Regions from separate parts of the Homo sapiens genome. Here all the other regions are linked to region 5. Evidence: promoter capture Hi-C in 16 types of primary human blood cells and fetal thymus (Javierre and others, 2016). All regions are on one chromosome and are shown on one strand. Each heading gives the region's core, a stretch centred on a gene start or on the middle of the fragment in contact. The rest is flanking DNA. Distances are from core to core; before and after follow the strand shown.

Evidence for each region. Contacts are between HindIII fragments. The CHiCAGO score rates a contact against its expected background, and 5 or more counts as called.
Region 1: a fragment that was not itself captured here is called in contact with the fragment with the promoter of CXCL12 in region 5 in 8 of 17 cell types (M0 macrophages, endothelial precursors, megakaryocytes and 5 more); the score reaches 13.5 in M0 macrophages.
Region 2: a fragment that was not itself captured here is called in contact with the fragment with the promoter of CXCL12 in region 5 in 4 of 17 cell types (M1 macrophages, endothelial precursors, M0 macrophages and 1 more); the score reaches 7.9 in M1 macrophages.
Region 3: a fragment that was not itself captured here is called in contact with the fragment with the promoter of CXCL12 in region 5 in 3 of 17 cell types (endothelial precursors, M2 macrophages and M0 macrophages); the score reaches 6.6 in endothelial precursors.
Region 4: a contact is called between a fragment that was not itself captured here and the fragment with the promoter of CXCL12 in region 5, in 7 of 17 cell types (M0 macrophages, endothelial precursors, M1 macrophages and 4 more). The highest score is 11.8, in M0 macrophages.
Region 6: a fragment that was not itself captured here is called in contact with the fragment with the promoter of CXCL12 in region 5 in 4 of 17 cell types (M0 macrophages, M2 macrophages, M1 macrophages and 1 more); the score reaches 10.1 in M0 macrophages.

What each region holds. Positions count from the first base shown.
Region 1 is chr10:44,869,524-44,874,074 of GRCh38, reverse strand. The region is part of intron 2 of TMEM72-AS1 (TMEM72 antisense RNA 1); the gene reads left to right. Among named protein-coding and RNA genes, the nearest start is that of TMEM72, 40 kb to the left of the region's middle. The HindIII fragment of the contact is 708 bases long and covers 2,054-2,761 here.
Region 2 is chr10:44,890,668-44,895,173 of GRCh38, reverse strand. All of the region lies in intron 2 of TMEM72-AS1 (TMEM72 antisense RNA 1), which reads left to right. Among named protein-coding and RNA genes, the nearest start is that of TMEM72, 18 kb to the left of the region's middle. The HindIII fragment of the contact is 163 bases long and covers 1,825-1,987 here.
Region 3 is chr10:44,827,586-44,832,286 of GRCh38, reverse strand. It overlaps TMEM72-AS1 (TMEM72 antisense RNA 1), which reads left to right. Exons shown (of 8, transcript NR_033842.1): 4 at 1,042-1,287. Among named protein-coding and RNA genes, the nearest start is that of TMEM72, 81 kb to the left of the region's middle. RefSeq lists an enhancer at 2,237-3,100. The HindIII fragment of the contact is 4,928 bases long and covers 572-4,701 here.
Region 4 is chr10:44,844,826-44,849,339 of GRCh38, reverse strand. The region is part of intron 2 of TMEM72-AS1 (TMEM72 antisense RNA 1); the gene reads left to right. Among named protein-coding and RNA genes, the nearest start is that of TMEM72, 64 kb to the left of the region's middle. The HindIII fragment of the contact is 3,708 bases long and covers 877-4,514 here.
Region 5 is chr10:44,383,589-44,388,250 of GRCh38, reverse strand. It overlaps CXCL12 (C-X-C motif chemokine ligand 12), which reads left to right and starts at 3,154. Exons shown (of 3, transcript NM_199168.4): 1 at 3,154-3,306. The coding sequence starts at 3,246. RefSeq lists a silencer at 1,416-1,625 and enhancers at 3,519-4,210, 4,211-4,662. The HindIII fragment of the contact is 14,357 bases long and covers 1-4,662 here.
Region 6 is chr10:44,805,581-44,810,267 of GRCh38, reverse strand. It overlaps the pseudogene EIF2AP4. Among named protein-coding and RNA genes, the nearest start is that of TMEM72, 100 kb to the left of the region's middle. RefSeq lists an enhancer at 275-937. The HindIII fragment of the contact is 784 bases long and covers 1,918-2,701 here.

The sequences.
Region 1 (4,551 bases), core at 1,158-3,657, 490 kb before region 5:
ATGGGGTCTGTAATTCAGGGACCTGTAGAAGTTCACAGTGTGAGAGGAATGAAGTGTCCAATCTGCAATCTGAATCTTCCCTATGAAATTTCCACCTGGTGCCCTCCAGCGCAGATTCTCGCACCCACAGTCCTGCCTTACAGGGCAGACCATTTCCTCTCTGACAGTACTACCTGTCTGAATGTTCTGCTTCAAACTGAGTCAAGATATGTGAACCCTGGGTAGAAGAATTATCAGGTCTGGAGGGAGCACAAGCAAACTATCCCATTTTATGGACGTGGAAACCGAGGCCTGAGGGAGAGACGCACCAGGAATCAGGAGATCTGGCTCTGATCAGCTGTACAAATTGAGAATTGTGACCTGACCTTGTCCAACCCAAGTGGCCCAACTCCTAATTCTGTGAGTGACATGTCTCTGTTACTTTGGAATATTGATTGAAGGTATGTGATTACAACTTTTTATTATAATATTCTGAGACAATTTTTTATTATAATCTTATGAGAAGCTAAGGACTGGGTGGATATTTTCCTGGGTTAAAAGTAAAGTTTTTCTTGTTGAAAACTTAGACATTCAGAAAATTTTCAAATTGTTTTTATTATATAGAAACTGTAGATTAGAAACATATTGTATGATGATTGTTCATGATGCTTCAGCGTAATCACTTCAGCAATGTAGCAATGACGCCATTCAGGGGCGTTTTCAAAGTGTGGCCTTGGGCCAGCACCATCGGCATCTCAGGAAACTCTCACAGGGACAGCCCTGCTCTACTGGATCAGAAGCTCTGGGGCTGGGACCCAGCAATCCATGCTTTAACAAGCCCGTCAGGGGCTTCCTATTCATGCTGAAGTCTGAGACCCACTGTTACGGAATATTGTCTTCCTGATCTTGATAGTGTGATGGTAAATTTTATGTGTCAATGTGGCTAGGATATGCTGCCCAGTTGATTGGTCAAACACTAGTCTAGAAGTTGCTGTGAAGGTATTTTTTAAACATTTAAATCAGTAGACTTTGAGAGAAGCAGATTACCCTTCATCATTTGGGTAGGCCTCATCTAATCAGCTGAAGGCATTAAGAGAAATGACCGAGGTCCCATGGGGAGGAAGGAATTCTGCCTCCAGACTGTCCTGGAACTCAAGACTGCAACATCAACTCCTGCCAGCTTTTCCAGCCTGCCAGCTTACTTTGAAAATTGCCAGCCCCCATGATTGTGTGAGCCAATTCCTAATCTCTTCTCATATATATATATATATATATATATATATATATATATATATATATATATGTATGTATACATATACCGTATGGCTCTGTTTTTCTGGAGAACTCTGATAAATACAAACAGCATTAGAATCCAATCTCAGCAATTTCTCATTTAGCCCAAGCTCAGCTGCACAATCCTTCTCAGTGCAAGACTCCAGACAACTGCTTTCAATAGGCAGGAGCCAGCATAGGCATGCCACTTAATAGCTGTCCAGGACTTAAGATGGTAACTGGGGGCCGAAAAATTTGTAGGTATACCTGATTTGGCAGAAACCATTTGATTTTAGGCTATTCTTTAGAAAATTCTTTATTGAAAAATATCTAGATTTCAGTGGGAAGTTAAAAAATGGATGGATCCGAATTTGAATCCCTGCTCTAACTTACTCTCTAAGTGGCCTCAGGCAAGTCACTTAACCCATGTGATCAATATTTTCTTCATCAATGAAGCAAGCCGGGAGTGGTAGCTCATGCCTGCAACCCCAATGCTTTGGGAGGTTGAGGTGGAAAGATGGCTTGAGGCCAGGAGTTCAAGACCAGCCTGGGCAAGATGGTGAAACCCCTATCTCTACAAAAAATACAAAAAAATGTTGGGCATGGTGGCATACACCTGTGGTCCCAGCTACCCAGGAGGCTGAGGTGGGAGGATCGCTTTAGCCCAGGAGGTTGAGGCTGCAGGGAGCTATGATTGCACCACTGCACTCCAGCCTGGGCAACAGAATGAGACCCTGTCTTTAAAAGAAAAAGAAATGAACCAAAGGTACTAAGGCTTTCCTTCTGTGGTTTTAATAAAGCTTCTAGGTAGCACATCTCAGGTGCCAATTTATGTCAGGCTTATTGTAGGCGCTCGGTGAATAATAGTTATTATGGTTTCAGCTTGCCATTCCCCAAACTGGAGGTATGCCAGAAAGATATTACTGTTAACTGGGAGTCCTAGGTAACTGTTCTCTCTGGTGAATCTGTGATTTACTGTAACACAGTAGAGATAACATGTTTAATTGTAATCAATATAGCAACATTATTATTTGAGCAATGCAGTAGGCACTGACTGGGGAGGGATGCATCCCAAGAATGTGGGAGCCATAGCAGCAGCCCTTGGTGATGAGCAGTACTAAGGCTATGATGAAGGCTGTCAAGGATGCACCCACATTTCATCATAGAAAGAAGCCAGGCAAGCCATGGGCTCTGGGAATTTCTATTAAAACAATATAGACTTTTAAGGGGGGATGTGGGGTACACAATCTATTGGAAATGTTATTTGTCCTACATAATTCTAGGGACATGAATGATGTAGGGAAACAATGTTATCAAACAACACGATTTTCTGTTTCAACTGAGAGGAAGAGTGGCCTATTCAAGTAAGCCCAGATTAATGTGTGAACATAGCTAAAAGGATCAGCATTTTCCTGTTACTTGAACACTCACAGTGCATTCAATTATATTTTAATGAACTTGAAAAACTGAATTCAATAGAAACAGTTTTGGAAGACTAAGAGGCAAAGCTTAATGATGAAGATATTAGAAAAGTTATACAAACTAATAACTACTAAGAAAAGTAAGGTGGTATTCAAAGATTTCCCCTCCTCAAATCCCCAAGCCCGGATGGGTTATAGATGAATCTTACTAAATTTTCAGGAACAGTTAATTGCTAATCTTTATAAGTGGTTCCGTAAGATGGGAAGAGAAAGTTGTGTAGCTCATTTTATGAGTCTAATGTAATTCATAACTCAAGTATCAGATAAGAACAATAAATACAAAGAGAAGAAGACTTCAATTGATTAGTATATCAACATTGAAGGAAAAACTAAATCTTGGCTAAGTGAATCAAATCTTTTGTTAAGAATATATTATAATTAAGTAGGATGCCACCTAGGAATACAAGAGTGACTCATCATTGGAAAAATTGTCATAAAATCTTTTGTTAAAAATATTGCCATATTAAAAGACTACTGAAGAAAAATTACATGGCAATTAAAATTAATACAGAAATAGTACTTTATGAAATTCAACAACTTTTATGATTAAAAAAGCATAGAAAACTAGGAACAGGAGGAAATTTCCCTAACTTGGCAAAAGTTATATTCAAAAAAACCTACCACAAACCTAATATTTAATGGAGAAACATAAGACCCATTTCCTTTGAAATTACAAACAAAATAAGGATGTCCAATGCTATGGTCTGAATGTCTGAGGCCTCCCCAAATTCATATATTGAAAATTTCAAGATAATGGTATTAAAAGGTGCGGCCTTTGGAAGATGATTAGGTCATGGGGGCAGAATCCTCAGGAATGGGGTTAGGGCCTGAGACCCCCTCATCCCTTCTACTGTATGAGGACACAGTGAGACTGTGTGCAGAAAGCATGCCCTCACTAGACACCAAATATTTTAGTGTCTTGATGTTGGAATTCCCAGCCTCCAGAACTGTGAACAATAAATTTCTGTTGTTTATAAGCCACCCAATTTAGGGTATTTTTTATAGCAGCCCAAATGGACTAAGACATCCATTCTAACTGTTTCCGTTTGGCACAGTGTTTGAGGTTCTGGCCAATGTTGTAAAAAGAGGAAAAAAAAAAAGCTGGAAGAGTTGGTGTGTGAGAGAGATTCTAGCTGCTCTATTGAGGGCCAGTGACGGGCAGGGGTGAAGGCGGCGGGGATCGGACCAGACACTAAATCACTCCGGCTTGAGCTGGGTCTGTAGCTATATAGGTGGTGAGAAGTGGTTGGATTTTGGGTAAATTTTGAAGATGTGCTTGACAAATTTGTCAAAGGATTTGAAAGTGGGGAACGAGAAAAAGAGAGGGGCCAAGGGTAATTCTGTGTTTTTTTGGTTTTGTTGTGTGTGTGCTATTTTTAACTCGAGCAGTGGGAATTACTAAGATGGGGAGACAGTGGGAAGCATAGTTTGTGGGAATTTTGAAAATGCCAAGTTTGAGATCTCTACTAGATATTTAAGCAACGATGCCAAGAGGTAGAGAGGACTCTAGGGTTCAGGGAGGAGGTCTGAGCTACAGGGAGACATTTGAGGGTGGTCAGTGTAGAGATGAGATTCAGAGCTATGAAATCCAGTGAGCTCACCAAAGGAGGCGAGTTAGAGAAAAGAAGACTGAGTTTTAGGGCGCTGCCAGTTGAGAGGTTGGGGCAATGTTGGGGGAAGGAGAAAGACCATCCAGGAAAGTATGAGGAAAACTACAGGCACACGGTGTCCCAAAGGACAGGTGGAGAAAGCTTCTGTAGAGAAAACGCTCAGTGATATTTTCTGAGAGTCTGAACACGTGACAAAAGGGAGTGAATCC
Region 2 (4,506 bases), core at 657-3,156, 510 kb before region 5:
GAATATACTGGTGCTGGGCACGGTGCTGGACCCGCGGTCTCTATTAAATGAAGATGGAATGTGTGGGTGTTGGGCACGGCACTGGGCCCATGGTCACTATTAAATGAAGATGGAATGTGGGTGCTGGGCATGGTGCTGGGCCCATGGTCACTGCTGAATGAAGATGGAATATGTGGGTGCTGGGCACAGCGCTGGGCCCGCGGTCACTGCTAAATGAAGATGGAATGTGCAGGTGCTGGGCCTGTGGTCACTGTGAAGTGGTGGGGTGGGGCTGTTTCTACCTCACTGCTGCCCTGTCCACACTAGGCTTGCTCTGGCCTTCCTGTTGCCTGGGGCCTGCCCTCTCTTGCTGCTGCAGAACAGGCAGGATAATCTCTCTCTAGGGCAAGGAATGCACTCGGGCCAGGGACTCCTCACCACCAGCTTGAGGGGCTGTGCCCAACCCTGCCTCCTTCAGGAAGGTGTCCCAAGTTCTGTCCTTGCCTAAGCAGCTGGCACCTGTGCTCAAAATATTTATTGCCCCCATGCCAGCTGCTCTCCCACTTGTCCTGTCAAAGGGAGAGTGGGGGCCTGGGGGGGATCTTGCTGCATCCCAGCCCAAGCCCATCAGATGTGGGGGACTTTTGCCCCTCTGACCCTGCTCCTCATGAGGCACAGTCTGCACGAAGTGACAGCCCCGGCACTACCTGAGCCCATGGGACTCAGCTCTTCATCCTCTCAGGGCCTCTTTTAGTCTAGGTGCCCAGGGCACTGAGAGGGACCTGGAGTGACAGGAACACTTGACTCATGGATCAGAGGTGGAGCAGCAGCTCAGGGTGGCTGTGTGCCCTCCCTGGGGGTCATTCCCTCTCTCTTGTCCTAGGAGCTTGGGGTGCCCATGCTTGAGGCAGGAGGCTGTGTGCTCCTGGGAGCTGGCCATGGTGCCATCTTCCAGGGCCATTTCTCATGCCTCCCAGTTTCCAGTCCCTCCTGACTCCCCTCCTTCTGGGTCCTCCGCGGCACAATGATATATTTCATATTTCTATGGAAGGGGTGTCATGTCTCAGCCCCCACACTGGCACACACACAAAAATGTATATGTGCATATACATATATATATATATATATTTTTTTTTTGCCAAGTAAGTCAGCTTGGACTCAAATGTCAGTTTCTTTGAACAGATTTGTCAATGACCTCAAATTAAACTCTCCCATTTGAGGAATGGCAGGTGCTGCCCTTAATATATCTTGCAGGCCTGGGAGTGACAGGTGTGGGGCCTGCTCACCTCGGATCAACCCTCTGGGCCTTGATGATCTCATCTGTTCAATGAGCATCACAAACATCCTTCCACCTCAGACACCCTGAGATTGTAAAATGAGGTGAAAACTTGCTGAGCAAGGGAAATGATCCGTTAGCAAGGACATGGGCATCCTCTCCCAAGCTCTTAGCTCTTGTCAAGGTTCCCAAGAGCGCACCTCTATAAAAATTCTAGATCTGAAGGAGTTCAACTCATTAGCTAGGAAAAACACCTTCTTGCTCACTCTTGTCAGACTTTAGAATGTCAGCATATGAACAAGCTGGAATTTATATTCATAGTGTTGGCCGCTGTTTGGCACTTGCTTGGATTTTGAGATATGAATTATACTGTGAGTGTGTCCTGCTCTAGGGCTTAGGTTATTTATTATTTGAGGTTAATGTATGTGGAGGATTGGATGTGGACCAGGCGAGTCTGGCCAGGGACAGATTACAGGGCCCTGGGTTATTTTCTCTTGTTCTTTACCCATTCATGTTGATGCCAATTATTTTGAAAATGAACAATGGTCCATAAATATGAGAGCAAAGCTTGGGTGCATTGCCCTGAGCCTTGCTGTCCTCCCTGGCACTGGTTTGTGCTTCCTCTTCTGGGGTGCACAGGAGAGGCAGATTGGGGCAAGAGAGATTGGCAGTATGATAGCACTGGGACTGACCCTCAGAATCCCTAGTCTGAGAGTGACATATTACCAAGCTTTCTAGACAGGCTAGTAGCTCCTGTCACCTCTGTTTCTAAGGAAAGAAACATAGAGACAGTTACAAATTTGTTGAGATTAACTTTGGCAATGCCTTACATTGCCCTTAAAGTATAGGGTACACAGGCTGGTGTACAGTACAGAAACAGTGCATAGTCCAGAAATAGCACACCACAAATGAACGCTTTAGACCAACATAGGCGTGAGATGGATGCGTGTGGGATGCAATCTGACAATACGCATAGAATAGAGCAAAAGGCCAGTCCACATGCATTAGGATGGCTGCTACCAGAAGAATGGGAAAGGCAAGAGTGGGCGAGGACGTTTAGAAACTGGAGCCCTGTGCATTGCTGGTGGGAATGGAAAATTGCACATCCATTGTGGAAAACAGCATGACAGTTATTCAAAAGGCAAACACATAAGTGAAATAAGCCTGATGCAGAAACACAAATATTGCACATTCTCACTCATACTTGGGAGCTAAAAACATTGATCTCACGGAGGTAAAGAGTAGAATGACAGACACCAGAGACTGTGGAAGGTAGCAGGGAGGAGAGATGAAGAGGGATCGGTCAATGGTTAAAATGATACAGAGAGGTGGAAGGAATAAGTTCTAGTGTTTCATAGCACAGTAGGGTGACTTTAGTGAACCATAATTTATTATGTATTTCTTTTTTTATTATTATACTTTAAGTTTTAGGGTACATGTGCACAATGTGCAGGTTTGTTACATATGTATACATGTGCCATGTTGGTGTGCAGCACCCATTAACTCATCATTTAGCATTAGGTATATCTCCTAATGCTATCCCTCCCCCCTGCCCCCACCCCACAACAGTCTATTATGTATTTCAAAATAGCGAGCAGAGAAGATCTGTAACATTCCCAACACAAATGTTTGGGGTGATGGATATCCCAGTTACCCAAATTTGGTCGTTACACATTGTACGCATATATCAAAATAGTACATGTACCACATAAATATGTACAACCCTGATGTATCCATACAAATTAAAAATAATAAGTTAAACACTAAATGGAATCACCATGGGATCCAGCAATCCCACTTCCAGGTGAAGTTCACTCAAATAAGTCATACACAAAAGGACAAATGTAGTATGATGTGTTTACACTGATATGAAGCTACCTAGAATAGGCAGATTCTTAGGGACAGAAAGTCAGATAGAGGCTGCAGGGACCTGTGGCAGGGGAGGATGCAGAGTTACCATTTAATTGGGACAGAGTTTCTGCTGGGGAAGATAAGACAGTTCCGGAGGTGGATGATGGTGTGATTGCACAACATTGTAGATGTCCCCAATGCCACTTAAAAATTGTTAGAATTGTAAATTTTATGTTATGTACATTTTATTATAAGAAAAAAAGGAGAGCAAAGGCAGCTGTGGGTGAGTTCATGATGTTTCCCCTGAGTTCCAGCAGGTCCCATCTGTGATGTCCCACAGTCCTGTTGCATGGGTAGGGCTGGTGACGTTGCTGGTCCCATTTTATAGATGACTAAACAAGTCACAGGGACATACCTGTGTGTTCTCATTCACATTCCTGTTCATTGTCTGCCTCCCTACACTGGGGTGTGCATTCTGTCAGGGCAGGGACCTGGTGGGGCCGCTCACCCCAGTGTTCTCAGGGCCTGGCACATATAAGATATTTGCACTGAATGAAGACGTGAATGGCACACTTTGTGTGAGGCTGGCCCCAGAGCTAGTAAGGAGCAGGCCCAGAACACTGCCTGGTCCTCCTGCTCTGGCTCTGTATTCTCCAATGCCTCAGGCTGCCTAGAGGGCGAGCAGGAACCGCATACACATGAAGGCCCTTCCTACCACAAACCAGGGAAAATGGCCTCTGAACAGCTGCACTTGGACAACAGGCCTCTGCCTTGGGGTCACCCCATTTTCTTAGCTTGAACTCCTCCCAGCCTCCCACTCCACCCTACTTAGACCTTGTCCCAGTGCTGGCAGGTGTGCCCACACAGGTGTGGCCTCTTCTCCTGTCTCCTCACCTCTGCACCGAGGCATATTCTGCTTCCCCAGTCCTGGGTCAGAGTGGGAAGCTGACCTCATCCCTCCCAGGGTGGCCAAGAGCCAGTAGCTGGCGGGGCACACTTCATAGGGAGGTAGAGCCTGACCCCAGGCTCAACCCTCACCTGTGCAGCCTTCTCCTCCCACATCCTCCTCCCAGGGGGGCCTGTGCCTGGGGTCACCATTGCATCTCCACTTCTCCCCACCCTGGCACAGTGTGCCTGTCTGGTCTGCGCTGGCCACAGATCCAGAGGCTCCTTGCTGAACCTGCAATTGCTGCCCTGGTGGACCCAGTTACACCCCTGCTTTCTGGGTGTGGTGTGGAAAAGGCCAGGAAGATTGATGAGTGGAAGAGAAGGAAGAGGGAAGGAGAGGCCTGTCTCCCACCACACCCATCCTTTTATGAAGTCAGGCTCTCAGAGTGACAGGGAGTGACAGGCTTGTAAAACTGTAAAAACTACTGGGCACAGACATGATCTGCTAGCTA
Region 3 (4,701 bases), core at 1,786-4,285, 440 kb before region 5:
GTGGAGACAGGCTGAGAGCTAAGTCTTGTGCACCAAAGAGTTAGCCAAGTTGTGAATGCAAAGGAAACATTCTTGAGAAAGTTAATTTCTTAGAGAAAATCATCATTCATGTATTCAATGAACACATGAACGATAAGAAAGTGAAATAGCCTTATTGCTGATACAGAGAAAGTTTAAGTGGTCCAAGTAGAAGATCAAAACAGCCACAGTCTTCCTTAAGCCAAAGCCTAATCCACAGCAAGGCCCTAACTCTTCAGTTCTATAGAGGATGAGAGAGGTGAGAAAGTTGCAGAAGAAAAGTTGGAAGCTAGCAGAGGTTGGTTCATGAGGTTAAAGGAGAGATGCTGTCTCCATAACATAAAAGTACAAGGTAAAGCAGCAAGAGCTGATGGAGGAGCTGCAGTAAGTTCTCCAGAAGATCTAGCTAAGATCATTGATGAAGGTGGTTACACTAAACAACAGATTTTCAGTGTAGATAAAACAGTCCTCTGTCGAAAGAAGATACCATCTAGGACTTTTGTACGTAGAGAGAAGTCAATGTCTAGCTTTAAAGCTTCAAAGCTTCAAAGCTTCAAATGACAGGCTTGTTAGGGGCTAATGCAGCTGGCGACTTGAAGTTGAAACCAATGCTCGTTTATTATTCCAAAAAAACTTAGAGCCCTTAAGAATTATGCTAAATTTCCTCTTTCTGAAAAAACAAAGCCTTGATGATGGCACATCTGTTTACAGCATGGTTTACTGAATATTTTAAACACATAAGTGAAACCTAGTGCTCAGAAAAAAGATTATTTTCAAAACATTACTGCTCATTGCCAATGCACCTGGTCACCCAAGATGGACATATACAAAGAGATTAATGTTTCATGCCTGCTAACACAACATCCATTCTGCAGCCCATGAATCAAGGAGTAATTTTGACTTTCAAGTCTTATTATTTAAGGAACAAATTTTGTAAGACTATTGTTCCTATAGATAGTGATTCCTCTGATGGATCTGGGTAAAGTAAATTAAAAATCTTCTGGAAATAATTTACCATTCTAGATGCCATTAAGAACATTCATGATTCATGAGAGGAGATCAAAATATCAACATAAACAGGAGTTTGAAAGAAGTTGATTTCAACCCTTGTGGATGACTATGAGAGATTCAAGGCTTCAGTGGAGAATGCACCTACAGATATGGTGGAAACAGCAAAAGAAATAGAATCAGAAGTGGAGCCTGAAGATTAAACTGAATTGCTGCAATCTCATGATAAAACTTGAACAGATGAGGAGTTGCTTCTTACAGGTGAGTAAAGAAAGTGCTTTCTTGAGATGGGATCTATTTCAGGTGAAAGTGCTGTGAACATTGTGAAATGACAACAAAGGATGAATAATTTTATATAAATGTAGATTACAATAAAGTAGTGGGAGTGCTTGAGGGGATTGACTCCAATTTTGAAAGATGTTCTAATGTGGGTAAAATACTATCAAACAGCATCACATGCTACAGGGAAATCTTTCATGAAAGAGTCAATGGATGTAGTAAACCTCATTGTTGTCTTATTTTATGAAATTGCCATGGCCACCCCAACCTTCAGCAACCACTGCCCTGATTAATCAACAGCCGTCAACATGTCAACATCAAGCCTAGACCCTCCACCAGAAAAAGATTACAAGTCTCCGAAGGCTCGGATAATCATTAGTATTTCTCAGCAATGAAGTATTTTTGAATTAGGGTATGTGCACTGCTTTTTTAGACATAATGCTATTGTACACTTCATAGACTATAGTATACTATAAACATAACTGGTATTCAGTGGGAAACAAAAAACATGTGACACACTTGATTGTGATATTTGCAGTATTTGCAGACAGTAGTTTGTCACTGAACCCGCAATGTCTCCAAGGTATGCTTGTATGTAACTAGAGGTTTTTTCAGTGGGATAGACTCAATAAGCCAATTGCATATCCATAATCAATTAAATATTTTCTTTTGTTTGACTTCCCTGTTTGTATTATAGAAATCTCCTTCTTGCATTCCTTTGATGGAACTCACAAACCACTTCCTCTTTGGAGCTGCCTAATTCATGAATCCCTGTTTGCTCAAACTCTTTAAAAATTTTACTGTGCTTTGGTTTACCTTTTTAACCCTGCAATGTGTATCAAAGGGTGCTTAGCACATAGTGAATGGAGATATTAGTAGTTCTTCTCTGATGCTTTCCAAGTTCGGCGAAATCTTGAGGCTCTCCACTCACATTTGCAAATGCTAAACGCTCCTGTGGTGGAGAGAGCAGGGGGGCTGGTGTGTGGACACCCTCTGAGGTGTTCTCACTGGCCACTGGCTCCTTTTGTTGTCTCCCTTTCAATTCAGTACCAGAACATCCCTTCACCGGCAACTTTCGAGTGGGCCTGCTGAAACAATCAAGGCAGTGCCTCCACTTAACTTTGAGAAGGTAGTGTGTGAGAGATTTAGAATAAGCAGCTCTGGAACTACTCCCAGTTTACTCTTATAATTACATACACAAAAAAATCAAAACCTCAGTTTATTTGTCCAAAAATGGGGATAGTATTCTTGTCCTACATGATGAGTGTACTAATCCTTCCAGCCAGCATTCACCTGGGGCTCTGTGCTCCAGGCAGGGTGAGGGTTAGGACTGCATGTAGGTGCTGCCTTCACACCCGGAGCAGGCTGGAGCGAGTGGTGTGAAGCCTCCCAACCCCACGGCTGGGGGCAAAGGCTGTGCTAAGGCACCCGGACATGGAGCTGGCCTGGCCTGAGGACTCAGAGTGGAAAGACAGGAAAGACACTGGCTGCGCTGAAGCGCTGGGACCCGGGAAGGGGCGTCTAGGCAAGAGCGCCTGTGAACAGGATTTGTAAGCTGCTCTTGGTGACTTTTGGACAGACACTCTTACTTGCTTTACTGCTCCCCTTTGTCTTCTGCCCCCTTTCCCTAAAAGTATTTCCAAATGTGTGATGCCCACCAGGTTCCTGGGCAGTGCAGTGGGATGTCTGCTTGGTTTCTGCTGATCCTCACAGAGCCTGGTGACTTCTTCCTCCCAGGTCTGTGGATCAACACTGTCTCCCTGGCCTCTACCCAGCGCGCAGGACCCCTTAGCAGAGCAGGAGAACTCAGGTTGGAACTCATTATTGCATGGTGCTTGTCTTGCCATCTGTCCCCATAATGCCTTAAGTGACAATGACATAGGCATCTGACAATGTATGTGGCCATCACTTTTTATCATTTTAAGATATATGGGCCTTCTTTTTCCAACTCTTTTCCCCCGCCAGACAGCCAGGAGCCCAGAGAAGGGTTGTGTTGTGTCCTTTACTGAGCCCCACAGGCCTGTGTGAGCCAGGGGCTTGGCATGCCTGGGAATAAGAGCGCCAGCCTTTGGCCTTCCCGCAGCCTCTCCTTGGGGCCTTTAGGGTCCCCACAGGCCCTCCCCTCCCCTCTGCATTTTCCAGGATCCAGCCAGCTGCCGGCACACTTTCGTCCTCCTCCGCACACGAGGATCCCCAGGCCCAGCGGTGTTAGCCCAGAGAGGAGCGGCGTTTGGGATGTGATCCACAGCTGATCCCTCGTGGCCCCTCCTCTCCCGAATCCTGAAACATGAGGAGGCCCTTCAGCTGCTGGCTCGGAGTCCGACTATGGGAACTTTCTCCGGTCTACGGGGGCAGCAAGGGTCTCGCCTCAGGGACTTGGTTTATTTATCTAGCTGGACTCCATCCCTTAATATCCTACTTACAGAGGAAGAGGCTTTAGCAGCTAAATGCAGCCCCATCCCCTCCTGTGGAGACTGTGAGCAGAAAAAGAACAGATATTTACAGAGGCCCGAGCCCCCCTTGTTGTTTTCTGCAAGGCTGTCGAGCTGGTGGAGCTTCAGGATCCTGGTCAGGAACCCCGAACCCAGCGCTGGAGGCCCTGAAGATCAGGGCACCCGACCCTCTTCCCAGCCGCCAAAGGCCTGTGTTGGTCTGATTGTGGATTCCAAGCTCTAATTTCCATCCATCCTCCCAATCCGAATTCCCTTTGCAGACATAAACACCATCAGCAATGTAGAGAATGTGTTTCCTCATCTTTGAATATTAACACTCATCTGTTTAATTGAGCTACTTTTTACATACATGTAAGATGTGCTGCAATTGCAAAAGAAACATGTGCTTCGTGTTCTATAAGCCATATCTTCCGCAAGACCTGCCATCAAATGATTGCTCAAACATTTGTTGAATGGGATGAGCAATGGAGGTTCAGACAGGTGCCCTGACCTACCCAGGCTGGAGGGTAGGGAGCTAGAAATTCATACAACCATGCCTTGTTCTACTTGTTTTGTGAAAGAATCATGTGACCAGTGACAAAGAGGCTGGGCAGCTGGGTCAGGCAGCAGGGACAGCGACTGAGCTGGGGGGACTACAGTGCTGTGCTCCTCTGCACCCGTGCTGGGATGTCTGAGGCCAAGCTGACACTGGCCCCCCACAATCCCTTGGGGCTGCTCCTCCTCAGGGAGTGGCTCTCCGGGTTTCCTGCTTGACTCCTGCTGCTCTTGTGTTGAAGGGCCGTCTCTGGGCAGCTCCCCCTGGCCCCTGGCCAGAGAGCCAGGCCCTGTCAGGCACGCACATGGAGGATGAGGGAGGTGCAGTTGTTTTCACAGGTGCAGACTCTAGAGGGACCCCACGTGGACTCTGTGGCTTCTGCCCCGACGCACTCGCGGGAGGACACAG
Region 4 (4,514 bases), core at 1,481-3,980, 460 kb before region 5:
CATTGAGGGTGGTTCTTTCCCACTGGGTCCACTGACTCACACACCAATCTCCTCTATAAATAAACTCACAGACACACCTGGGGCAACCCAGTTACTTTCATCAAATGTTAAACTGCCTACTGAAGCATTGAGAATAATTAATGCAGCAACTGAAAATAAATAATGCTTTACCAGCTATCTGGGCATCCCTTAATCCAGTCCAGTTAACACTCAAAATCAACCACTAGGTTGGCCAAAAGGGAGGCCAAAAGCTGGAGTCTAAGCAGCAGCTCGACCTCACCTCAGAGCAGCCTTCACTGTGTGTTGTTCTTCCTGAGCTCTGAGGTCTCAGTTTCCAAATACCAAGAAAAAGCTTGAGCAAGAAGCTTTCTAGTAAGGTCATTGACTAATATGTAATAAAACATTCCCCCAAAACATGGTAGCTGAGATCAATAACAACATTTAATTTGCTTGGGAATCTGCAATGCAGGTAGAGGCGGCTCATCTCTGTCCCACTTGGCACCATCTGGGGCAGCTCCCAGTCACGGGCTGGGGCTGCAGTCATCTGAAGTCTCCCTCATGCCTATGTGTGGCTGTGTGGCTTTTTCAAGGGGTGATCTGGCTTCCTCACAAGATGGTGGCTGGGTTCCCAGTGCCAGCATCCCCATAGAGAGGGAGAGATCTTGATGGAGAGAGTGAGAGGGAGAGGGAGGGGAGGCGGGAGAACATCATATGGAAAGTGCATCATCTATCACCTTTTATGATCTAGTCTTGCAAACTACTTGTGATGCATTCTATTAGTTAGGAGCAAGTCACTAAGACTGGCCCATAGTTGAGAGGGGGAGTAGACTCCACTTTTGGACAGAAGAAGTGTCAAATAATCCTTGTGTACAAGCTTTGATACTACCGCCTTCCAAGCCCCTTCCACCTCTAAGGAGGCCACAGGCCCGGGCCATGGCGTGTGGCAGTGCTGTGAGGCCCTGGCTTCGTGGAGCCCTGCTCTGCCAGTCCTGCTCCCTAAAGTTCACTCACCTCCCAGTTGAACCTGCACACTAGGTTAGAACAGGAAATTGTAACCATCTAAGAAGGGGCAGGATAGTCTAACTTCTCCCTCTCTCTCCCTCTCTGTCTTTTTTGTTGTTGTTTTGAGTAACTTTAGCGTAAAACTAGTCCAGTACATAAAAATCTGAATTGGGGAGTATCTGAAAGTCCCATTTCCAGAAATCTCCAGTCGGCTGGCTCTCCCACTTTTTACTTTTCTTTGAAGACTCCTCCGAGTGGCTCTAGCCCAAACACAAGCCAGTTGTCACAAAGTTCCCTTCTCCAGCCAGTTGGGAGTCACCCTTGGCTGGAAAGCTCTTGCCTGCCTGGGCTCTGGGCCTGGCCCCCTCCATGCTGTCCGTGGGTCTCTCCTTTTTATTAGCTTCTCCATCAAGAAGGCTTTCATTACTTTCCAATGCTCTGAGCTTCTCAAGTTCCCCCTTCCTAGGAAAAGTGCGTTTTTAAAGACAGTTCTTCAGCCCACCACTGCACCCTCAGGATGCATGCCACCTGGGGCTGGAGGCTGGTGTCCAGGGTGAGGGGAGTTAAAGGATCTCCTTGGCCTCTGCTGCTCCAGTGACAAGAGCACATTTTCTGCCCTCCACTTACGTCCTGGGACATCTCCTTCAAATGCTTGTCTTTTGGCTTCTTGATGGCAGTGGCAGAGAATTGGAGGTGGGATAATTTGGGAGGTGGTTGATAGAACAAGAAGGGAAACAGAGTCATCTCTGATTCCTCTCCCTGCCTAGCTCATTTCTGTGGCAGAAGAAGGCACTATGCTTTTCCCTGACACTGGGCCCTTTCATGCCCGAAGGTGGGAACGCCTGGTACAATTTCCTGCCATTTCTTCACACCATTGCTAACTCCCAATGTGTTGGGCATGGACACTGCAGAGAAGCTGATGCCCAGGTGAAGCTGTGAAGCTGGTGAAGCTGTGAGCATCTGGCCAGTGTCGGCTGCCCTTTGTTGGAGGCAGTGCAGCATGGCCTCAGGGCTTGGCATCACACAACTCTGAGGGGCACCTGGGGAGCCAACCTCATAGAACACAAGCTGAATATTGCCCCTTGCAGTTCTACAAAGCAGCTGCTGACCCTCCAGCAAAGGATTAGCCATCAGGAGACATGGATGCAGATTTCAACTCCACCCCTTTCTGGATGCATGACAAGTGACAGGTTATTTCTCATTTCTGGTCTTAAATAAATTTCGCCATCTGCAAAAGAACAATTTTGAACAAAGTTGTTAAATCTTCAGTTCAAATGTTCTATCATCCTAATATTGATGAAAGATTATGAATCCTAAATTAGCTGCAAAGTAAATGAGATGCTCTTATGGTTGTGGTTCTAGGGTATTTCCTGAGCAAGAGACAGAGGGTCAGAGTGGGCCATGCAAACATGTTGCCAGGTATCACGGGCTGCTTGCAAATAGAAGGTAGGAAGCAGCAGTGTGCCAAACCTAAGAGCATTGTGGAGGTGGATCCAGAGGCAGATCCGTTGGGGGGGGGCCCTCTGTTGAGATTTCCCTTCAGTCTCCCCCACCCCCACACACGTCATCTCACTTGGATCTCCCTCTATGCCCCTTCCTTACCAGATTCTCTCTAACTCATGCTTCAAGACTCAGTCTTCCCATCAGCTTCTCCATGCAGATTTCATAGGAGTCCACATCTGGGTCTGGTGCCCTCCACCATATTTCTTCTATACCCTGTGCTTATCACTGTAGAGTGGTTTTAAATCTTCACAGCCAGGCGTGGTGGCTCACACCTGTAATCCCAGCACTTTGGGAGGCTGAGGCAAGTGGATCACCTGAGGTCAGGAGTTCGAGACCAGCCTGGCCAACATGGTGAAACCCCATCTCTACTAAAAATACAAAAATTAGCTGGGTGTGGTGGTGCATGCCTGTAGTCCCAGCTACTCGGGAGGCTGAGGCAGGATAATTGCTTGAACCCAGGAGGCAGAGGTGGGAAAATTTGGGAGGTGAGCCAAGATCGTGCCAACGCACTCCAGCCTGGGCAACAGAGCAAGACTGTCTCAAAAAAAAAAAAAAAAAACTTCACACACACACACACACACACACACACGCACAATAGTCATAGAGCTTTATTTTTATGCAATCGATTATAATCAGTTCTCTGCCCCACTTCTGCCAGGGCTGGCAGAAATCTCCCTCATCTCTACAACTGGGGTTTGTTCCACTCATCCCAAAAGTCTATGAAGGGGAACTTAGTTTGAGGAGGGCATCTGGGAGGACTCTATTCATGGCCGAACTGGCCACCTTTGGTTCACTCCTTGTCCAGTGCTCCACACCTTGGTTCCCCTTTGTCTGGCCTGGCTCCTGGTAAGCAGACAGTGCCAGGATCCCATCCGAGGCTTGCGTGTGGGGCTCTTTGCTGGGACCTGCGGGCAGTCTCCCTGCAGCCAACCCCCAGGGAGCTCCCTCGGAGGTCCTGCCACCCCCCGGAGCAGTGCAGGTGCCTGCTGCTCACACAACCCCATCTAATGTGTCCTTTTTAGTGCTGGGGACTCTCTTTCTCCCTCTTTTGGCTCTTGCCCAGTCCTTTCTCCCCTGCTTTCCCTTTGTCCTCCTCTGTGGGACCCATACACTACTCTTGATGAAACAAAAATTCATATTTTATGAAACCCTCCAGCCACATTATGTGCTATATTAAATTAAGGAGTTATGTTTATATGTATGTTTTCCCAATTAGCAACACACTTGGGGCAGGCAAGAGCTGTGTTGTATTAATCTCTACTATTCCAAAAGCTGAAAAAATGCCAGACACACATGGAAACTTGAGATGTTTTTGTTGAGTTGAATTGAATTAAATATCCCTGTTGTCCAGGGTTATCCAAGATGAGTCTAATTCAAGATTCTTTTTTCTCTTTCTGCCTTTTTTTTGTGGGTCTGGTTGTTTGAAGAAAAATCACAAGAGTTTCTATCTTATGGCCTCTTTGAATCTTTGAGAATTGGCAAAACCCAAAGTCAGGTGAGTGATAACATCTTGTCAGTAGCTGGGAGATAAAGGAATTAGGTTTCAGCCCTTGGAGAAAAGGAGGCGGGGACAGGCCAGAAGAATAGGGTTACAGCCTATTCTATTTCTATTCTAGTTAACTAGAATAGAAAATTAGAGACAGAGCAGAAACCCAGTCTTAGCGACTGGATCTATTTGGTGGTGATGACCAGGAGCAAGGCGCTGGCTTGGTTGGGCACTGGGGCATGGGGGCCTAACATTATCACCACAGGACAGCACCCTTCCATCTGGTAGGGGCATGCTAACACCTGCCATGCCTAGTTCTCAGTGACTCCGGACACAGTGGGGGCAGCCTACCCATTAAGGCCTTCATTGTCTTTGGTCTAATTTCCTGTTATGGAAATTACAAAGCTCGATGGAGTCATCTCCAAATGGAGAGCTGTCCTACTCTGCATGGAAGCAGGTCTCCAGGCAGATGAAAGATGGCTCCTGAGGAAAGAACACTGACGTTAACTCCAGGGGCTGCTCA
Region 5 (4,662 bases), core at 1,905-4,404:
GAACCCTCTTGCAGGCCCAGCCGTTGGGCCCTGGAGGAGTGAACGGCCCAGGCCAGGCAGAGGGGGGTAGGCAGATGCTGCCTAGGGGTCTAGAGACCATAGCACACATGCCAGCTCAGGAGATGCCCTGCCTTTAACTCAGCAGCCAGACCCCTGCCTCCCACCTTGAACTGTGCTTAACAAGGCATCCCTGAGGAGCCGCTGTGCCCTGCATTACCTGGTAGAGCGGCACAGAGTCTGAAGACTTCAGGAGAAGGTGGGGCTCTATGGGGAGTAAGAGTCCCCAGGCAGAGAAAGAAAGGTGGAGCCTTTTGAGCATAAGCATAAGCAAAGGACACAGGGAAAGGGGTGGGGAACTTCGCTGACCCGAATTTGAGAGGTACCCCTGTGGCCGAGTGAGCTGGAGACATGTCAAAATGGCCTGGTCTGATGGCCGCCTGCCTGTGCAGGCGGTGCGGAGGCCCCCAGAGTGTACAGGGTTTTATTTTATTTTATTTACATATTTACATATTTATTTATTTATTTACATATTTGTTTATTTATTTATTTTTGAGACGGAGTCTCGCTTTGTCACCCAGGCTGGAGTGCAGTGGCGCCATCTCGGCTCACTGCAAGCTCCGCCTCCCGGGTTCACGCCATTTTCCTGCCTCAGCCTCCCGAGTAGCTGGGACTACAGGCGCCCGCCACCACGGCCGGCTAATTTTTTTGTATTTTTAGTAGAGACGGGGTTTCACCGTGTTAGCCAGGATGGTCTCGAACTCCTGACCTCGTGATCCGCCCGCCTCGGCCTTCCAAAGTGCTGGGATTACAGGCATGAGCCACCGTGCCCGGCCAGGGTTTTAAATTTCAATCGCCAATTGTAAAATTGTGAGGCTTGTACCTAAAATATGGATCCTTGGCCACCCTATTTAAAATCCTAACTCCCACCCCACTTTCCTCTGCTCCATCTTCCCCTAGCATTTAATGGCCTTCTAAGTATTTTATGCGTAATTACTTATGCTTAGCGCCATGTGCTTCTAAACGTTTAGTGCCTTTTCTAAACTACTTCAAACATGTAGCCCAGGTCTAGCACATAGTGGGTGCTCAGTAAGTATTTAACGAACGACTAGCGGAAGGGATGGCCCCATGGGTGCCACAGTAGCTTCTGTTCTGGGGCCTCAGGGCGCCTGCGGGAGGGGCAGCGGCCAGGCCTGAATCCCTGGTTCGCCCTCGACTCAGCCCACGCGGGCCTTTCAGGCTTCTGGGACAGATCCTAGGTCCAGCTGCCCACCTGATTTTGTGGCAAAGAAAAAAAGAAGAAGAAGAAGCGAGAGGCGATGGCGTTTGCTTTGGCCAGATTTAAGGGCAAGCGAGGCTGCGCGCGGCTCCCGCAGGGTCGGATCTCCGAGCTCCAGGGCGCCCCTCCACCCGGGTGTAGATTTCCCGCGGACCCCTTCGCCCTCCCGGGTTTCATCAGCTGCGCAGGAATGGAGCTGGCCAGAGCTCTGGGAGCGGGGAGGGAGGCGCCGCCACCAGAGGGCGCCGGAGCCCCAGCGCTGCGGCCGGTGAGCGGCCAGGCTCCCCGGCCCAGCCCAGCAAAGGCCTGGGGACGCCCGACGGCTGCCTTCTTCACTGGACCTCACTGCCTTCAGTTCTTTAAGAGCAGGGCCAAGTCAGTGGGGTTCCCGGCTCCAAGCCCAGTGCCCAGGGTGGGTGGGTGGGTGGGTGGGTGGGTGGATGGATGGATGGATGGATGGATGGAGTGCCGGCCCACAGCCATCTAACGGCCAAAGTGGTTTTGGAAAAAAAATGCACAGAAGACACCTACTCCCACCAGCGGAGTTCCGGAGCCCTCGCAGCCTCCTGTTGACCGCTCCCGCCTAATGCAGCCGCTGACCGCCCACTCCCCGACGGCCAGGACTCCCCAGGGACAGGGACGTGTCCCCAGGGCAGGCCCCTGGATGGACGCGGCGACTGACCCCACTTCGCTGGACGCTGTGCTGGGAAGGACACAGAGAGGTGGCTGGGGCAGCCTGCGGTCACAAAGCGAGGCCCAAAGGGGCGCTCTCCTCACCCCCACGTCTCCTGGGTGCCGACCTGCACCCTCCCTTCGCCACCGGACTGGGGCCATCTGGGATGTCTCGGGGGTATCCGGAGGGCTAAGCACCGCCGAGGGACGGCTCCGTGGGAAGAGTTTTCTGGACCCAGAAGGCAGACGCCAGTAGTACTGTCCTAGGAGTCGGAGGTCGGGGTGGGGGAGTTCTCAGCTCTTTGGGTCGCACGGAGCTTTTCTTGGGTAAGGCAGTAAGTACTTAGGTTTAAAGGACTTACTTACAGCTACCATTTATTGAGTACTGTCTGCTTGTCAGACACGATGCAGAGAATTTCGCGGCGTGGGGCGGGTCTCATTGAATCTCCCGTCCCACTCCGCGGGGTGGGCCTGTGATTAGCTCATTTCACCATTGAGAGGTCGGAAGTACAAAGGCTACATTCGCTTTTACTGAGAGCCGCCGGCGCCTTCTGCTTTGTTTGTACAGGCGAGGAAACTGAGGCTCGGCTGGTGGCGCCGTGGGCTTGGAGTCCGAGCCACGCTGACTGCAAAGACGGGTCTCATTCCCGCAGATCGAGCTCTGCCGGCGGCTGCGCCGCAAGCCGGGCAGGTGGCGAGCTTGAGCCCCCACGCACAGAAAGCAGGACCCCCTCGGCTGCCTTGGGCCGCCACCGCCAGCAGGCCCTCCGCCCGGGACTAACTTGTTTGCTTTTCATTGGTTCTCATTCAGTTCCCGCCATCGAAAGGCCCCGTCCCGCAGCTTTCCACGCGCGCCCCACTTTACGCCTAAGGTCCTCAGTCTCTCCAGTGGGGCCCTGTCACAGGGACAATAAGCGGCCCTCCAGCCGGCGTCGCTCAGGCTGCGGACCTCACTGCAGACCGGGCCAGCGGTGCGGGGCCCAGCGGAGCCTGAGAAGGTCAAAGGCCGGAGCGCACTGCGCCTCGGGAGCACAGAGGGAGCGGAGGAGGGGCGAAGGGGATGGGTGGGGGGTGCCGCCGAGGGAGTCGCGCGTCAGAGACCCCGGCCACGGCCAGCACTCGGCTCCGGGCCCGCCCCTCACCGCGCGCCCCGCCCCGCCCCGCCTGGCTCTCCCCTCTAAAGCGCCCGGCGCGCGCCTCCCACCGCCGCACTTTCACTCTCCGTCAGCCGCATTGCCCGCTCGGCGTCCGGCCCCCGACCCGCGCTCGTCCGCCCGCCCGCCCGCCCGCCCGCGCCATGAACGCCAAGGTCGTGGTCGTGCTGGTCCTCGTGCTGACCGCGCTCTGCCTCAGCGACGGTAAGTGCGCTCGGCGGGGAGGCCCTGGCGAGGCTCTGGGCTTCGGCTCCCGCCCGGCGCAGAGCCGCGGCTCCTCTGCCTGCGCCCGCAGTTTGCGCCGCCCGACACAGTGGGGGTGGAGGCAGCTCGCTTAGCTGGGCGCTCTGGTGCGGTGTCGCGTTCAAAGCCCTACTTTTGCGCCGAGGGTTTGTGACCTGCAGAGAGCGACCGCCTGACCTCAAGCTGGCTGCAGAGCGAGGTCAGCCGGGACAACTGGGCAGGAACGCCCCAAGAGAGCGTTCGGGACTGGCGCGGGAAGGCGCGAGGGTGGGGAGCCGCGGACCCCAGACCCCTGCCTGCCCACCCTCCACCCACTGCCTTCCCGCTGCGGGCTCGGTTTCCACAGGCGAATGGGCTCCGAGGTCCTGCTGCGCACAGTGCTGGAGGTCGGGCGGTGCATGGCGAGAGCGCGCTTTGCAAAGTTCGCCTCATGCCGCGACTTGAGGCTGTGAGGTCCGATGCAGCCGCGCAGCCTCCGCTCCCTGCGAAGCCGATCCTCTCCCCACACCCTCGCGGGGCTCTTGGCCAGGCGCGGGCGGGCTGCGCGGCGCAGCTGTCGGGCTTGTGCCACCCGCCAGGCCGCGCTTCTGCACAGCTCCGCGGTCCGCAGCGACGCGGACCTGGGCGCGCGTCCAGCCGCTGTCTTCCTGTCTCTTCTCGGGTTCACCTGAGAGAGGCCCAGGGACCCTCCGAGCCTCACACGCCCCCTCCCCAGCTCCCCAAACACACCTGCAGACAGGCTCTTTTGTCACCAGCTGGCCAAGCGCTTTGCCCCAGAATGAGAGCTGCAGCAAAGTTCAATCTCCAAGGCCCTGGGCCACTGGGAACCGTGGTGTCCCGTTTCACTGGGAGAGGGCTTTTTTCTTTTCTTTCGCTGAAGAGAAACTCGCTGCGCTGTCACAGGACACCGATGCAAACCAAAATAAACTGTTGCCTCTGAACACACAAAACAAAACCCTGTGGCTCAGGCCGCTGAGCTTCCTTGGCTGTGAAGTTTCCTGCAAAGAGTTGAAGGACACTCTGAGTGCTCTTGCAGCCGCGGGCTGTGCAGGCCCAGCGCGCCTCGAGCCCTTGGCTGGGTTGGTGCAGACGTGGCCCCGGCGTCCTAGCTGGCTTGGACTGTGCGCTGGTGTGAGCAGGACCAGCGCAGCTGAGTCGGGCTGGAGAAGCTGGGCAGCCTGGGGTCGTGGCGGACTGCCTAAGTGTTAAGGACACAGACTGAAGGCAATTGGGAATGTTCGTCGTTGATGAAAAGTCCCTGAGGCTGTGTCTGCACACTGACCCCCCCCCCCCCCCGCAAGTCATGGGGCATGTTTC
Region 6 (4,687 bases), core at 1,060-3,559, 420 kb before region 5:
CAGCATCAAGCTAAAAGTACTAAGTCTCATCTGAAGCTCATCACTAGGCAGTGCCCCAGTGGGGACTTGGCATGTGGACTCCAACCCCACATTTCCCTTCAGCATTGCCCTAGTAGAGGTTCTCTGTGGGGGCTCTGCCCCTGCAGCAGGCCTCTAACTGGGCACCCAGGCTTTCTCATATAGCCTTTAATATCTAGGTAGAAGTTGTCAAGCCTCCTTCATTCTTGCATTATGTGCACCTTCAGGTTTAACACCACATAAGCCACCAAGGCATATGGATTGCAGCCTCTGGAGTGGTGGCCTGAGCTATACCTGGGGACTTTTGAGCTGCAGCTGGAGCTGGAGCAGGCAGGATGCAGGGAGCAGCATCCCAAGCCTGTGGAGGGCAGTGGTGTCCCAGGTCTGGCTCCTGAAACCATTGTTTTCCTCCTAGGCTTCTGGGCCTATAATGGGGAGTACTGCTTTCAAGATCTCTGAAATGCCTTTGAGGTCTTTTCCCCATTGTCTTGGATATTAGCACTTGGCTCTGTTGTAGTCATGCTAATCTCTCTAGCAAGTGGTTTCTCTGCAGCCTGGTTAAATTCTCTGCTACATGGCCAGGCTGCAAATTTTCTAAACTTTTATGCTCTGCTTCCCTCTTAAATATAAATTCCAACTTTAAGTCATTCCTTTGCTCCCTTATCTGATTATAGGTTGTTGGAAGCAGCCAGGTCACTTCTTGAACACTTTGTTGCTTAGAAATTTCTTCTGCCAAATACCCCAAGTCATCACTCTTAAGATCGGGCTTCCCTAGATCCTTAGGACATGAATACAATACCACCAAATTATTTGGGAGAGTGTAACATGGGTGACCTTTGCTCCAGTTCCCAATAAATTCCTCATTTCCATCTGATACCTTATCAGCCTAGCCTTCACTATCCATATTTCTATCACTATTTTGGTCACAACCATTTAATTAGTCTCCAAGAAGTTCCAAACTTTCCCTTATCTTCTTGTCTTCCTCTGAGCCCTCCAAACTCTTCCCACCTCTGTCAGTTATCTAGTTCTAAAGTTGCTTCCACATTTTCAGGTATCTTTATAGCAGTGCCCTACTCCCCAGTACCAATTTTCTGTATTAGGCCATTTTTGCATTGCTGTAAAGAAATACCTGAGGCTGGGCAATTTATAAAGAAAAGAAGAAGTTTAATTGGCTCATAGTTCTACAGAGAGTACAGGAAGTGTGGTGCTGGCATCTGCTTTTGGTGAGGGCCTCAGGAAGCTTACAATCATGGTGGAAGGTGAATGGGGGAGCATGCATGTCACATGGTGACAGTGGGAGCAAGAGGGCAGGGGGACATGCCACACACTTTTAATTGGCTTATGATTCTGAAGATAGTACAAGAAGTGCAGTGCTGACATCTGCTTCTGTTGAGGCCTCAGAAGCTTCCACTCACGGTGGAAACAACCCGGTCTTGTGAGAACTCACTCACTATCATGAGAACAGCACCAAGCCATTAATGAGGGATCTACCCCCATGATCCAAACACCTTCCATTAGGCCCCACCTCCAACACTGGGGATCACATTTCGACATGAGATTTGGAAGCGATGAACATCCAAAGCATATCAGTGAGTGAATATAGATTGAAGAGAAAGAAACATATATTCATTCTAAAGTTACAGAAACAAACTTTTGTTCGCCTTGTTTTCATCGACTTCTTTTGGATTACAGTCTAGTGAGTTACATTTATTTGTTTTAGTTTAAAATACCCATATTCATTTATATGGTAAATACTGGTCTCTACTGAATGTCATTGATATTCCTCTTTTAGTCTATCAAACTTACCTAAGAAATTTGTATGTGTCTTTTCTATAACTTGCATTGAAAGATGTTAACTTAGTGGTCATTAATACATAATTTCCCAAATGTGCAAAAGCTTAGGTAAATGGTTAATATAATGTTTGAGCATTAAGTGTGGGTACATGGATATTCAGGGTGCTCTCCTGGATTTAACCCAGATGTGTTTCTATGGATTTATACTAATAAATCTGCTCTCTGTGAATCTTTAAGTAACCATTTTCAAATCTTCCAGCTCTTGGAGAAGGGAACTATCTTTTATTTTTCTAACTCACTGTTTTTCTAGCTGTGTTTCAGTTGCTGTGTTCTTTCAAGGTTCAGCTGCTTTTGGCTTTTTAGGTTCTTGAATTTTTCGTCTATCTCAGGATTTCCAGATGTTAACTGAGAGTCAGTTGCTTTTGGCTTTTTAGGTTCTTGAATTTTTCATCTATCTCAGGGTTTCCAGATGTTAACTGAGACACTGTATTTCAGGGTGTGCTCTGGGGGACAGGGGTAGGTGTCAAATCTGGACTCTTGTCACTTCTTACTTCCTGCTTTGTAGCTTTCTTAGCTTTATATTTCCTTTGATTTTTCAGGGCTGCTTTTGTTAATGGTTTATCATTTCCTGGTTGGGATTTCTTATTCTGGGGTGATTTCTCTTCATACAGCTTAGAATTGGTGATTGTTTTATTTCTTAAAGCTGGGAGTCTATCAGTCATTGCAAATTTAGGTTCCTAGTTGGGTACTTCACTTGGAACTGCTTGATAAGTTACTGCTTTTGCTGGAAATAGTTCATCCAGAAATGTCTGCCAAGAAGCCTGCCATATTTCTACATTTGGTGACACATCTTACTCATGCAGGATAGGGCTGGTATAATGTCAAAGCTTGTATCCATTATTAACACACAACCTGGGAGCATGTGTGATAGTAAAAGGTGCTCCCATCTAGGTACCTAGCAAAATATGTATGATCAGAGGATACTTGTTTGGAAATAAGTTTGTAGCTTTTAATATCCCACACTCACGTTTGTTCCTCAGATTTCCAAATCCAGTTAGTATTAATATATGGCCACAAGGACCGAATAGGCTGCCTTAGAGCACCAGTTCCAAGGTCAAACACAAGATCACATTTCAAGTTGAAAATCATAGCTTTGGCAGGCATAAAACCATAAATAGCATAAAACTCAGTAGAACCAGAATTCCAAATTATATCATAAATGGGGCTATGTTTTAGTAATTGAACAAATGACAGCACTTTCTCCATTTGTTGCAGTGCAATGCAGCCTTTGTTCCCCATAGCAGGAAGTTCTTCTCTTGTCAACATCTGTTCTCGCTATTACAAGCCAGCAGTGGCTTTTTCATTCCACAGCGTTGTAACCTCATCGGCTTAGAGAAACTGCTGTTGGCTAAAGCTGCATGAGGTCCAAAAAAGTTGGGGTATGAGTATAATACAACAAATGAAAGTACACCCTCACTCCCTGAAACATAGACAGCCCCCTTGTGTGACTGGAGTCCAAGTGATAACCCACAATTAATTTTCTGCAAAGACAATTTACTTGCAATTTTATAAAATCATCGTTTACAAAGAAGTGAACTTTATTGTTAACATTTTGGACACAAAACAGTTTCATCATCTGACCAGATGGATACCAATTTACATTTTTTCCTTGATGAAAGACTTCAAGCACATCCCACTCTCACACGATGGAGTTGCAGGTTGAGTCTCCCAGGAGTGCCATGTGTAGGGAAGTGTAAGGCTGCTGTATTACCAGGACATGGGTTTTTGGTAAGAATTCAGAAAAAAGTGCCTTTGGAGGTGGAAGAGGTGTAGTAAACTCATGTTAGTGACACTGATAATATTTATAATTTTTTTCCTTTGCCCCAGCAAATGAAGCTCCAACTGTTGCTAAAGTTACAGATTTTGTAATTTTCCTGAGATTTCCTTGGAAACACTATGCTTTCTGCAAAACATGGTGGTGCATTCACCACACAGAGTCCTTCTGATCCTCAGCTGGGTTCATATACTGACTGTGGGAACTAGAAGCATCATTATCTCTGAGTCTGTAGCCACATCTTCCAGGAGTGGCATGGACAGCCCCACCTTCTCCTGGAAAACAGTTACCTTTCTTTCCAATCCCCCTTCTTGTCATGAACTGTTATACTGCTGCTGGGTCTCTTACTTGACTAACTTAGGGGAGGTCTGTATATGTGTCCTCCACTCCCTGCTGGAAAGTAATGGGAAATGTGTGAATTCTCCAGGCACACAGCCTTTGCTCTTGCAGTTTCTCTTTGGCCATATGAATAAGCTCGTGATGAATCCTCAGCAGTAGGATTTTGGATTGCAATTGGTGCTCTCTGTCACCACTTTATTGATGTTGGCTGCAGAAACCTCCCCAGTCTTCAGTGGGGTCCAAATGAACCAGAGCGGGAGGAAGGAAATAAACTGTGGTCCCTTCATAGGCTCCTATCAGTTCACACTCAGCACCAAGGCCATCTGGCACCTGACTCACATTCCACAACTGTGTCGTCCACAGAACCTGCGCTCTGGCAGGGCAGGGACTGACATCCCTCCTTCCCTGCCTTACAGCCTGATTCTTCTGATATCCTCATCTCAGAAAGGGTCACCACCATCCTTTACTTGCTCAATCCAATAACCTAAGCAATTGGCTCAAATCTCTATCACTCCCTGTCCACAAAGAGTTCACAGTCAGATCCAAACACACCTCATACTCCACCATGCATGGCTGCTCTTACTGCCATGGCTGTGTCACAGCGATACTTCCTCCCCACCTCCCCTCCTCCATGGCCTCTGCAGTGCTCTCTCTGCTTGCTTTCCCTTTCTCACTTTATTCACTGCATAACAGCAGCATGAT